Linked DNA regions of Homo sapiens: region 2 is linked to region 1. Evidence: promoter capture Hi-C in human tissues and cell types (Jung and others, 2019). All regions are on one chromosome and are shown on one strand. Each heading gives the region's core, a stretch centred on a gene start or on the middle of the fragment in contact. The rest is flanking DNA. Distances are from core to core; before and after follow the strand shown. Region 1 holds the start of SDR42E1 (short chain dehydrogenase/reductase family 42E, member 1). Region 2 overlaps CDH13 (cadherin 13).

Region 1 (4,913 bases), core at 486-2,985:
TAAGACTTTGTGGGACTGTTGGGAAGGCATGATTGGTTTTGAAATGTGAGGGCATGAGATTTGGGAGGGGCCAGGGGCGGAATGATATGGTTTGGCTGTGTCTCCACCCAAATCTCACCTTGAATTGTAGATCCCATAATTACCACGTGTCCTGGGAGGGACCCAGTGGGAGGTAACTGAATCACAGGGGTGGGTTTTTCCCATGCCGTTCTCTTGATAGTGAATAAGTCTCAAAAGATCTGATGGTTTTATAAAGGGGAGTTCCCCTACACAAGCTCTCTTGCCTGCCACCATATAAGACGTAAGATGTGACTTTGCTCCTCTTTTGCCTTCTGGCATGATTATGAGGCTTCCCCAGCCATGTGGAACTGTGAGTCCATCAAACCTCTTAACTTTATAAATTACCCAGTCTTGGGTATGTTTTTATTAGCAGCATGAGAATGGATTAATACAGGTAGTTTAAAGGTTTAGCATTTAAGCCTCAGGACAATCTTCCGAAGTTGTTACTAGTATTATCATCAGCTTTCAGAAATGAGGAAAATAGATCAGAGGTTAGGAACCTTGCCCACAAATTATGCAGGTCATAAGGGGTTGGGCAGGGTTCAGGACTTGAAGCCGGGTCTGTATGACTCTTAACCACTACATGTAATGCCGCACAATAAGGCTGGGACAATACAGATTCGCTTAGGTCATTATCTTATCACTGTGAAAGGAAAATAAATCTTGGGGTCCCAAGATCACTAAGCTAAAGGGAAAAGTCAAGCTGAGAACTGCTTAGGGCAAACCTGCCTCCCATTCTATTCATGTATCTCTGCTCACTAAAATAAAGGCATATCTGATTGCTTCCTTTGGAGAGGCTAATCAAACTCAAAATAATGCAACCATTTGTCTCTTACCTACCTATGACCTGGAAGCCCCCTCCCCGTTTCGAGTTGTCCCGCCTTTCCAGACCGAAAAACATGTTCATCTTACATCTGTTCTTGTCTCATGTCTCCCTAAAATGTAGAAAACGAAACTGGGCTCTGACCACATTAAGAATACATCGTCAGGACCGCCTGAGGCTGTGTCATGGGTACATGTCTTCAACCTTGGCAAAATAAACTTTCTAAATGAACTGAGACCCGTCTCAGATTTTCAGGGCTCACTCCACCTCCACAATTTCTGTCACATCTGATTCATCTGGTATTATGACTAGCCTATAAGGTTTTGTTTAAACCTACTTACCTTTTCCCAACAAATACATGCAGTTTAAATGGGAACCTGTCACTGCCACTTTTAAGTGGCAAACCAGAACCAAGTGATAAAGAGGAGGTAATCGTTCTCCCAAAGTGTGCAGAAAATCAAAGACAGGAATCAAGTATAGCCAGCCACCTGTGGAAAGTTCGGAGCTTGGGGCCCCGATGTCCTTAAAAACAAAAAATGCGGAGGGCCAGTGTTTGAGGCCTTGGCGACATTCTAGAAAGCCAAGCTGCGCCCGGTCCCCTGGGATCAGGAAGACATCTGAAAGGGGATACTCCTTCCCGCCACCCTGCTCAGTCATTCACCACCGTCCCCCACCCCCGGGACCGCCACCTGTCGCGTTCCAGGCCGAGGCGGTCCAGGGTCCCCGCGGAAGGGCGGCGGCCCCCCAACCCCAGCCCAGGCCCACTCACAGCTGCAGGAACAAGGGCGCGGCAGACGGCTACAGCAGGCAGAGAGGCCCAGGCCTCCTAGCTACCCATCACCACAGCTGGGGCGCCGAAGCCGTCGGACCTGCCTCCTGGAGCCACTTCCGGGCCTCTCTAGGAAGCCTGGAGGTCTCGGAGTCTCTATGACGCGCAGGTGTCTCCTTCACCTTCACCGGCGTTGAGGTAGCAGGAGGTTCGCTTCATGAATTCCCCCACGTTCTCTGGCTGTGCGTTCCGCCGTGGCGGGAACCCTTTTAGGGTCACGTCTTCCCCCACGTCCCCTGTCTGTGCGTTCCGCCGTGGTGGGAACCCTGTTAGGGCCACGTCAACTGCTCTTCCCACCTCCAGTGTCTGCTTTTAGACTTTCACCTCCATCTTTGTTTATCCCCAAGGCCAAGACCAGTGCCTGATAAATAGGCACTCAGGTCAGCATTGCTTGGGTGGATGGATGATGGAAAAGGCTCTATAGGGAGGCAGAATATTCACTCTCCATGTATCTCTTTAAGTTTCTATTATCTCTGAGTTTCCATATCTATGTGTGCCCATAGGTTTTCCTGTGTCCCTAATTTTCCTTATTTCTCTTTGTTCTGGTCGCCAAGCAGGCAGTGATGCCAAGACTAATCTTTGTTGCTGAAGGAACCAAGGAATGCAGAAAGGAAAGTTGGCATCCTCACTCAGAGGTCTCCTTTTGAGGCCCATCTTTTGTCTCCTCATCATGAGTGTGGTTCTGTGGATGGTTGCAGACTGTACACGTGTATGGACATGCATCCTGGAATGGACCCCTGGCTGGGGAGGATTTCATTTTAGTGTCTTGGAGGATGGAAGTTTTGACTTCATGTGGTGCTCTTGCCGATAGATCTGGTACCAAAGGCAGACTCAGAGAGGTTCATATCAATTGCCTGATTTACTGCTCAGTTTTCACTAAGCACACACAGTCACAAGGACAAAGCTCAAGTCCTAGGATATAAAAATTAATGAAGCCCAGGTGAAGAAATCAAGAAGTGCCAGTCCCTGGCACTGGCCTCTCTCATAGGATGCTCTGGCTTTCCTGCCTGTCTTGTCCTCACCTATTAGGCAGGCATAAGTCACAGGAGACTTCTTGTGCTAAGCAGTCTTAAAGAACAGCTTTGCAGTGGCTGCTTAGGATACATAAAAATTAGAAGAGAAGAGGAAGGGTATTCAGGGGGCTGAGAGACCAGCTATATGCTCTTGAGGCCAGCAGCTAAGGAAGAAAAGACCCACTGAGGATGCAGTAAAGAAGACAGACTTCCTTTGGGGAATTACAGGATCCTCTGAGGGATACCCAGATTTAGAGTGTGTGGATAAACATGAGAAATGGTGAATTTAAATGTTAGTATTCTTGTGCCACCGAGGACTCTTTTAAAATATAATCAGGCGTGTTTTAAAGGAAAATTACAAACTCTATAATTGCTTCCTTAGCTTCCATCATAATTTAGTGAGTTGATTTTATAAAGGTCTGACCAAGAGATCTAAGACAGAAATGACTGGAGAAAGAAATTAACTTCAATGTGAGTTTGTATATCAGTGTTTGTTTAGTATTGTCTTCCCCCAATAATATGTCCAGGCAGTGGATGCATCTCAGAAAGATCAGTTTGCTGTCACAATTACTCACAGGTGTGCAGTATTTTATTTCTCACTCCGATCACAGTCCAATTCAGTCTGCAGGGAAGGGGAAGAGTGCTGTGCTCCACATAATCACTCAGGGACCCAGGCTTCCCCCATTTGTTATGCCATCATGTTCAACTCTTGGCTGCCAAGGTCACTACAGAAGAGGAAGTAAGAGCTTGGCTTTCCCCAACACTTTCACTTAAAGTCTCCTGCATCCCCTTGAAATTCTTCAATCTCTTCACAGCACTTAGCTCATCTGAAATTATCTTGCATGTTGCTATAATGAAAGCTCCGTGAGTGCAGAGACCTGCTTGATTGATTGGTGTATCTCCACTACCTACTATAGTGTCTGGCATAGAGACAGAATTTTTTTTTTTTTTTTTTTTTTTTTTTTACTGGTGAATGAATCAGCAAATGAATATATGTCACATTTCTGGTTGTCCCTGTTCAAAATCCCAGGCTTGCAAACGACACCTTCTTTTGGCCCAGCTTGGATCAGAAATCACCTCTACCATTGTCAGCTGTGGCAAAAGGACACAAGAACTGCTATAAACTGTGGTCATTTCTAAAGAACGGAAATTATTGTGAGCTTGGTAGGCACATGAGAACTTTGCTATCCAAAAGTGTGGATCAGTAACATCAACATCACCTGAGAGCTTATTAGAAATGTTGGGTCTTGGATCCCATTCTAGGCTTAATAAATACAAATCTGTATTCAGCAAAATCCCTAGGTAATTCCTATGTATAGTAAAGGCTGATAAGCACTGCCCTAAAAGTGCTATGACTTAGTAGTAGTAGCACTACAACTCTCTGAGGTGGGTAAGAGAAACCTTGTAATAGTTCCACACTGCATCTGGAAATCAGGTGAGTTTAAGTGACTTACCCAAGGTCACAGAACTAGTAAATGACAGACCTGTGATTAAAAGCCAAGGCTTCTGGCCGGGTGCGGTGGCTCACGCCTGTAATCCCAGCACTTTGGGAGGCTGAGGCGGGCGGATCACGAGGTCGGGAGATCAAGACCATCCTGGCTAACACAGTGAAACCCTGTCTCTACTAAACATACAAAAAATTAGCTGGGTGAGGTGGTGGGCACCTGTAGTCCCAGCTACTTGGGAGGCTGAGGCAGGAGAATGGCGTGAACCCAGGAGATGGAGCTTGCAGTGAGCCGAGATCACGCCACTGCACTCCAGCCTGGGCGACAGAGTGAGACTCTGTCTCAAAAAAAAAAAAAAAAAAAGCCAAGGCTTCTGACTCCCATATCCTCCACATTCCATCTATTTCACCATGCAGCTGTCTTTCCTAGATAAACCTATTTTCTTTCACTAATAAAAAAAATATAAAGGGGAATAGACAGAAAAAAATTGAGCTATATTTAAACAGTGGTTAATGGCTTCAATAATTGATTTTAGAAAAGAAAACAAGCATTTATCACATGCAGTACATTTCATAAAATGGTTTTCCTCATTACATATTAAAGAACTCTCCAAGTAACATAATGTTTATATTTCATTTATTCAGCAATTAAGCAACTTAATATTCTTTTAGAAGCATTTATAGCACTTATTAAGAATTATCAAGCATACTATTTGGGTCAATGGCTTTTCTTTTTTCCTATTA
Region 2 (4,706 bases), core at 2,023-4,522, 1.4 Mb after region 1:
ATTTTAAATGACATCTGAAAAGTTTGTCATTTTAAAAAGTTTGCTTGGTCCCAGTAAGGATGGAGAATGGCTTGTTGGGGATGGAGAAAAAGGGAAAGGAGGTTCAAAAAGTGAAGTAAAGCTTTTATCATTTAAATGTGGCAGCATTAGATGTGGGTCACAGAGTTGTAGACAGGCTTAGGACACGGAAAGGAGTTTGGTTATTCATCTGGCCCAGTTGCCTCCTTTACATGTAGGAAAATCAGCACTGACCAGGACAGATGAAGTGGCTTGTCCACACCCAAATATTTAGTTAGTGCAGAGTGGAGAGCTCCAAGTGGGGGCCAGAGCCCAGAAGACTCCTTCAGCCTTGTGCCCCCAACACTGTGGAATGGGAACTGAATCAGTCGTGGGGAGGAGGGGTCTCTGCAAACGTGGCAGGTCACAGAAGATGGACAGCAAGGGCCAGGCACGGTGGCTTATGCCTGTAGTCCCAGAGCTTCAGGAGGCCAAGGCAGGCAGATCTCTTGAGTTGAGGTCAGGAGTTCGAGACCAGCCTGGCCAACATGGTGAAACCGTATCTCTACTAAAAATACAAAAATTAACTGAGCATAGTGGCGCACACCCGTCGTCCCAGCTACTCAGGAGGCTGCGGCAGGAGAATTGCTTGAACCTGGGAGGTGGAGGCTACAGTGAGTTGAGACTGAGCCACCGCACTCCAGCCTGGGCAGCAGATTGAGACTTCATCTCAAAAAAAAAAAAAAAAAAGCGGGGGAGGGAGATTAATCCTGGTGCCCTTCTAGAACTACCACCTGGCCTTTCTTAATTGTCCACTTGGAGTGTTTGCCAAGCGAAGAAAAGATGAACCCATGACTGTGACCTACCTGGAGGGTAGACATTCTGGAGAGCTTCCCCTCCAACAATGTCCCAAATCTGTGTTCATCCCTGAACACAACCACTGCAGTTCTAGGAAACCAACTTTCTAATATATTTAAGGATGCTTGTCAAGATTTTATTATCTGTTCTTTCATCAGAGAGATGTTTACAACAGCAGAAAAATTTAAAAATAAAAATGAAATGTTTTGAATAAGAAAATAATTAAATTATGGCACAGCCAGGGTCAGTAGTCATCTGGTCGACTGTGGATGGATCTTCCAGAGACTCCTCTCGCCTGTCATTTGTTGGCACTCAATCTCTACCTGTTGTTCAATACTTTGAGTACCACTCTGGTAATGAAATAATAAGAGTGATGGAATACTGTATATCCATTTGAAAGATGACAATTCAATTACTTGGGAAAAACACAATACATTTACAATTGGCAAAATACAAGCTCTAGAACATCAGCTTAATCTATATCTATGTTAAATGTATGTAAAACTTATGTTCCTACCAAATATTAACAGTGACTTTCCCCGATTGGTAGAATTAGGGATGGTTTTAATTTTCCCAATTTTTGGTCAGTGATATTTTCTTAATGTTTAAAAAGGAACATTAACAGTTTTTATGATAAATGAGGAAAGTTTCTTTACAACATTTTTTTGCATGCCATTCCTTAGAGTTGGGCAGCTTTTGCAAGCTGTGAGAAGCCCAGCTCCTGCTTTTCCTGATACGGTTTATGACTCACAGCTGCCACCAAGATGTCAGTTAGCTCTGTGACAGTGAAATGACTTCATTTCCCTGAACCCGGATAGAAACGGTGTCTGGGAAGAGAGAGAGTACCTGGTGGAGCCCTATGAGTAAATGTGATGATGATTCAGCTCTGGACCCTATACTCTACTCCAAAAGGAAATGTTTCAGGGCATCAGAGGGCATGAATTCATGAATGTGTATACGAGGCTTTGTTCAGGATATTTTTAAATATAGAAGTTCATTGATACAACATCCCTATGAGGTAGGGATTATTAAGAGGGCTTTATCTATAAGGAGGCTGGGATTGAGAGGGTTTGAATGATTTGGCCCAGGTCACACCATAAGAGCTGGGAGCGAGATGACAGAGTCTTTTTTGTCCACAAGCAAAATAGCCATGCCTGTACTTGCAGTCGGACCGGAGGAACACACAGGCCAACTCTGACGCAAAGCATGGTTATCACCATGCTCCTCCAATGCCACCTGCGTCTTAGCTCTGGGTTTATTATTCACTGAGTGCCTTAATGGGCACCTATCGTTTATTTTCCCTGGGCCTCAGTTACCTCATCCGTAAAATGAGACAAGAAGGTATTTGAGGTAGATGAACTTCAGGATCCCATCAGCCTTGACGAGTGCAGGATTCTATGTGAATCTAGATGAGATTTATCCAAGGACCTCCACATCCTGCCTCCCACCTCCATGAGCAGCTATTCCAAAGCTACCAGTCTGGTGATTCAGCCAAAGACCCATCATTAAAGAGCACAAAGACATCCTTGGCCAGTATCTTTCTGGATGCTGATGCTTTTCTCCTGAATTGCATGTCACCTTGGAGAACTCAGTGATGGATGAGAGAGATCCAGCTTTGACCTGGAAAACTTTCACATTGCAAGTTTTTTTTTTCTTTTTCTTTATAGATTTATAGTCAATACTTCAGCCTTTCTATGACAAGAAGCTTATATTTTTCTGGACTAGATGTAACAAACGACTTTCCAAGTGATCAGTGACATCCCAAGTTAGGGCTGCATTTTGAAATTGTTCTTTAGAATCTCTAACTTCATTGGGAACAGTGATATCAGAATGTTACCTTAATACTCTGCCAGAAAGGCATGGAGAAGATGTAAAATGTTTATAAATGAACATCCAGTGATGTGCACTTGGTAATTTCATTCAAAGATGTAAAGGAAGAGATACTATAAGGGACATTTCTGTTATTTTGTCAAATGCTATTATTTACTGAAAAATAAAATTTCACCCTATATGCTTGACCTTCAGGGACTTATTTTAAGATCATATGGCTTTTCCTAAACAGCTGAATTATTTAGTGAGATTGAACTCTCAAAGACTTTAAAATAAAGCCCACCAAAATACCAGCCACTCTGCAGTGCTACAGCTGTTCAGACCTCAATCTGCATATTTCATCTCAGCAGACTGAAGTTTGCAACTGAAAAATCGCTCAGAAAATACTTATCACCTTCCATGCCAAACGCAGAAAGGAATTTATTTGAAGCTGAGAATGTGATAGGGTGGGTGACTTACTCCCACAGTGATGCTTAGAATGGTGGATGGAGTTCTAGCTGCGTTTTTGCTGCTTCACCCCTGGGGAGGCCACGCCTCTGAGAAAGAGGCTGGGAGGCCCTTCCGCAACAGGTGTTCAGGTATGAGTGAAAGAATCTAAGGAGTGAGCTTGGAGCACTGCACCCACAGACAGGACCATCATTAGGAGCACATTCTCAGTGCGTGTTGAATGTTACGAAAAGGTTTGATTTATACATTTTTGACCTAAATAGAATTTAATCAAAATGTCTAGAGAATTTTTACGGGTTACTAGCCCCTCACTTTTTCTGAAGTACTAAAAGCAGAATCAGGAATTCAAGATTATCATGTTGAGTATAAAGCACTCTAGTCTTCCTAAAGGAATCAGTGTCAGACTGGGCTGGTGGTTCACACCTGTAATCCCAGCACTTAGGCAGGCTGAGGCAGGAGGACCACTTGAGCCTGGGAATTTGAGGCCAGCCTGGGCAACAGAGTGCGAAGTCCCTACGAAAAAAAAAAAAAAAAAAAAAAAAAAAAAAATATATATATATATATATATATATATATGGAGAGAAAGAGAGAGCGAGAGCAAGCCAGGCTTGGTGGCATGTGCCTGTAGTCCCAGCTACTCAGGAGGCTGAGGTGGGAGGATCATTTGAGCCCAGGAGGTTGAGACTGCAGTGAGCCAAGACTGCACCACTGCACTCCAGCCTGGGCAACAGAGGAAACCGTTTCTAAAAAAAAAAAAAAATCAATGGTACCTCCTATAGAGTCAGGTGATGGTGTTGATTATGATGATGATGGCAAAGACGGTGGTGAAGGTGATGGCGATGATCATGGTGATGATGATGGGCTGATGATGACTGTGATGATCATCATGGCAAAGATGACAATAGTGAGGTTGATGATGGTGAAGATACCAATAGCAACAATGAAGATGTGGCTGCTGATGTGACAAAGATGATGATGGTGATGGTGATGATGGCAACAGTGATGACAATGATGATGATGATAATGATGACCATAGTAATGATGATGATGATGACGATGATGGTAGAGGCTTACATTGATTGAACCCTTGCTAGGTAACAGATATGTTAAGCACTTAAGCCCTGAGTGTTCATTATCTTATTTAATCTTCAGCACCATCACATGAAGTACATGCTGTGATTTTCCCATTTTAAAGATATTGAAACTGAAGTTTAAACTCGGTAAGGAACTTGCTCAAGGACAATACTTCTTAAATTTTGCTATACATTAGAATCACCTGGAAAGATTTTTTAAAATCTTGACCCAGAGGTTGAGTAATGTGCTCAAGGGCACCCACCTGATGAGTGGCAGAACCAGGCTTTACAACCCAGTCACTGAGCACCAGAACCATGTCCTCTCTTGTGAAGAGCCAGTCATAGTGCCCAAGGAATTTTCAGGGCCATCATTGCTCATGTCCCTCCGGTGATGCTGTTTTTAATAATAGTAACTGGCGAGCTGGAGTATAATGTTTTGGGTAGCATGGCAGATCTTTGTGGGGCAGTGTGCTGAAACCAGCTTAAATCTCTGACTGCCGA

Evidence for each region. The method cuts DNA at HindIII sites, captures the fragments that hold promoters and counts their contacts. A contact is called where the count stands out against the background at its distance.
Region 2: a fragment that was not itself captured here is called in contact with the fragment with the promoter of SDR42E1 in region 1 in 1 of the 25 tissues and cell types used here (dorsolateral prefrontal cortex).

What each region holds. Positions count from the first base shown.
Region 1 is chr16:82,009,735-82,014,647 of GRCh38, forward strand. It overlaps SDR42E1 (short chain dehydrogenase/reductase family 42E, member 1), which reads right to left and starts at 1,736. Exons shown (of 3, transcript NM_145168.3): 1 at 1,653-1,736. RefSeq lists a silencer at 1,511-1,660 and enhancers at 1,901-1,990, 2,001-2,080. The HindIII fragment of the contact is 11,252 bases long and covers 1-4,913 here.
Region 2 is chr16:83,440,056-83,444,761 of GRCh38, forward strand. The region is part of intron 6 of CDH13 (cadherin 13); the gene reads left to right. Among named protein-coding and RNA genes, the nearest start is that of CDH13-AS1, 43 kb to the left of the region's middle. The HindIII fragment of the contact is 3,864 bases long and covers 1,341-4,706 here.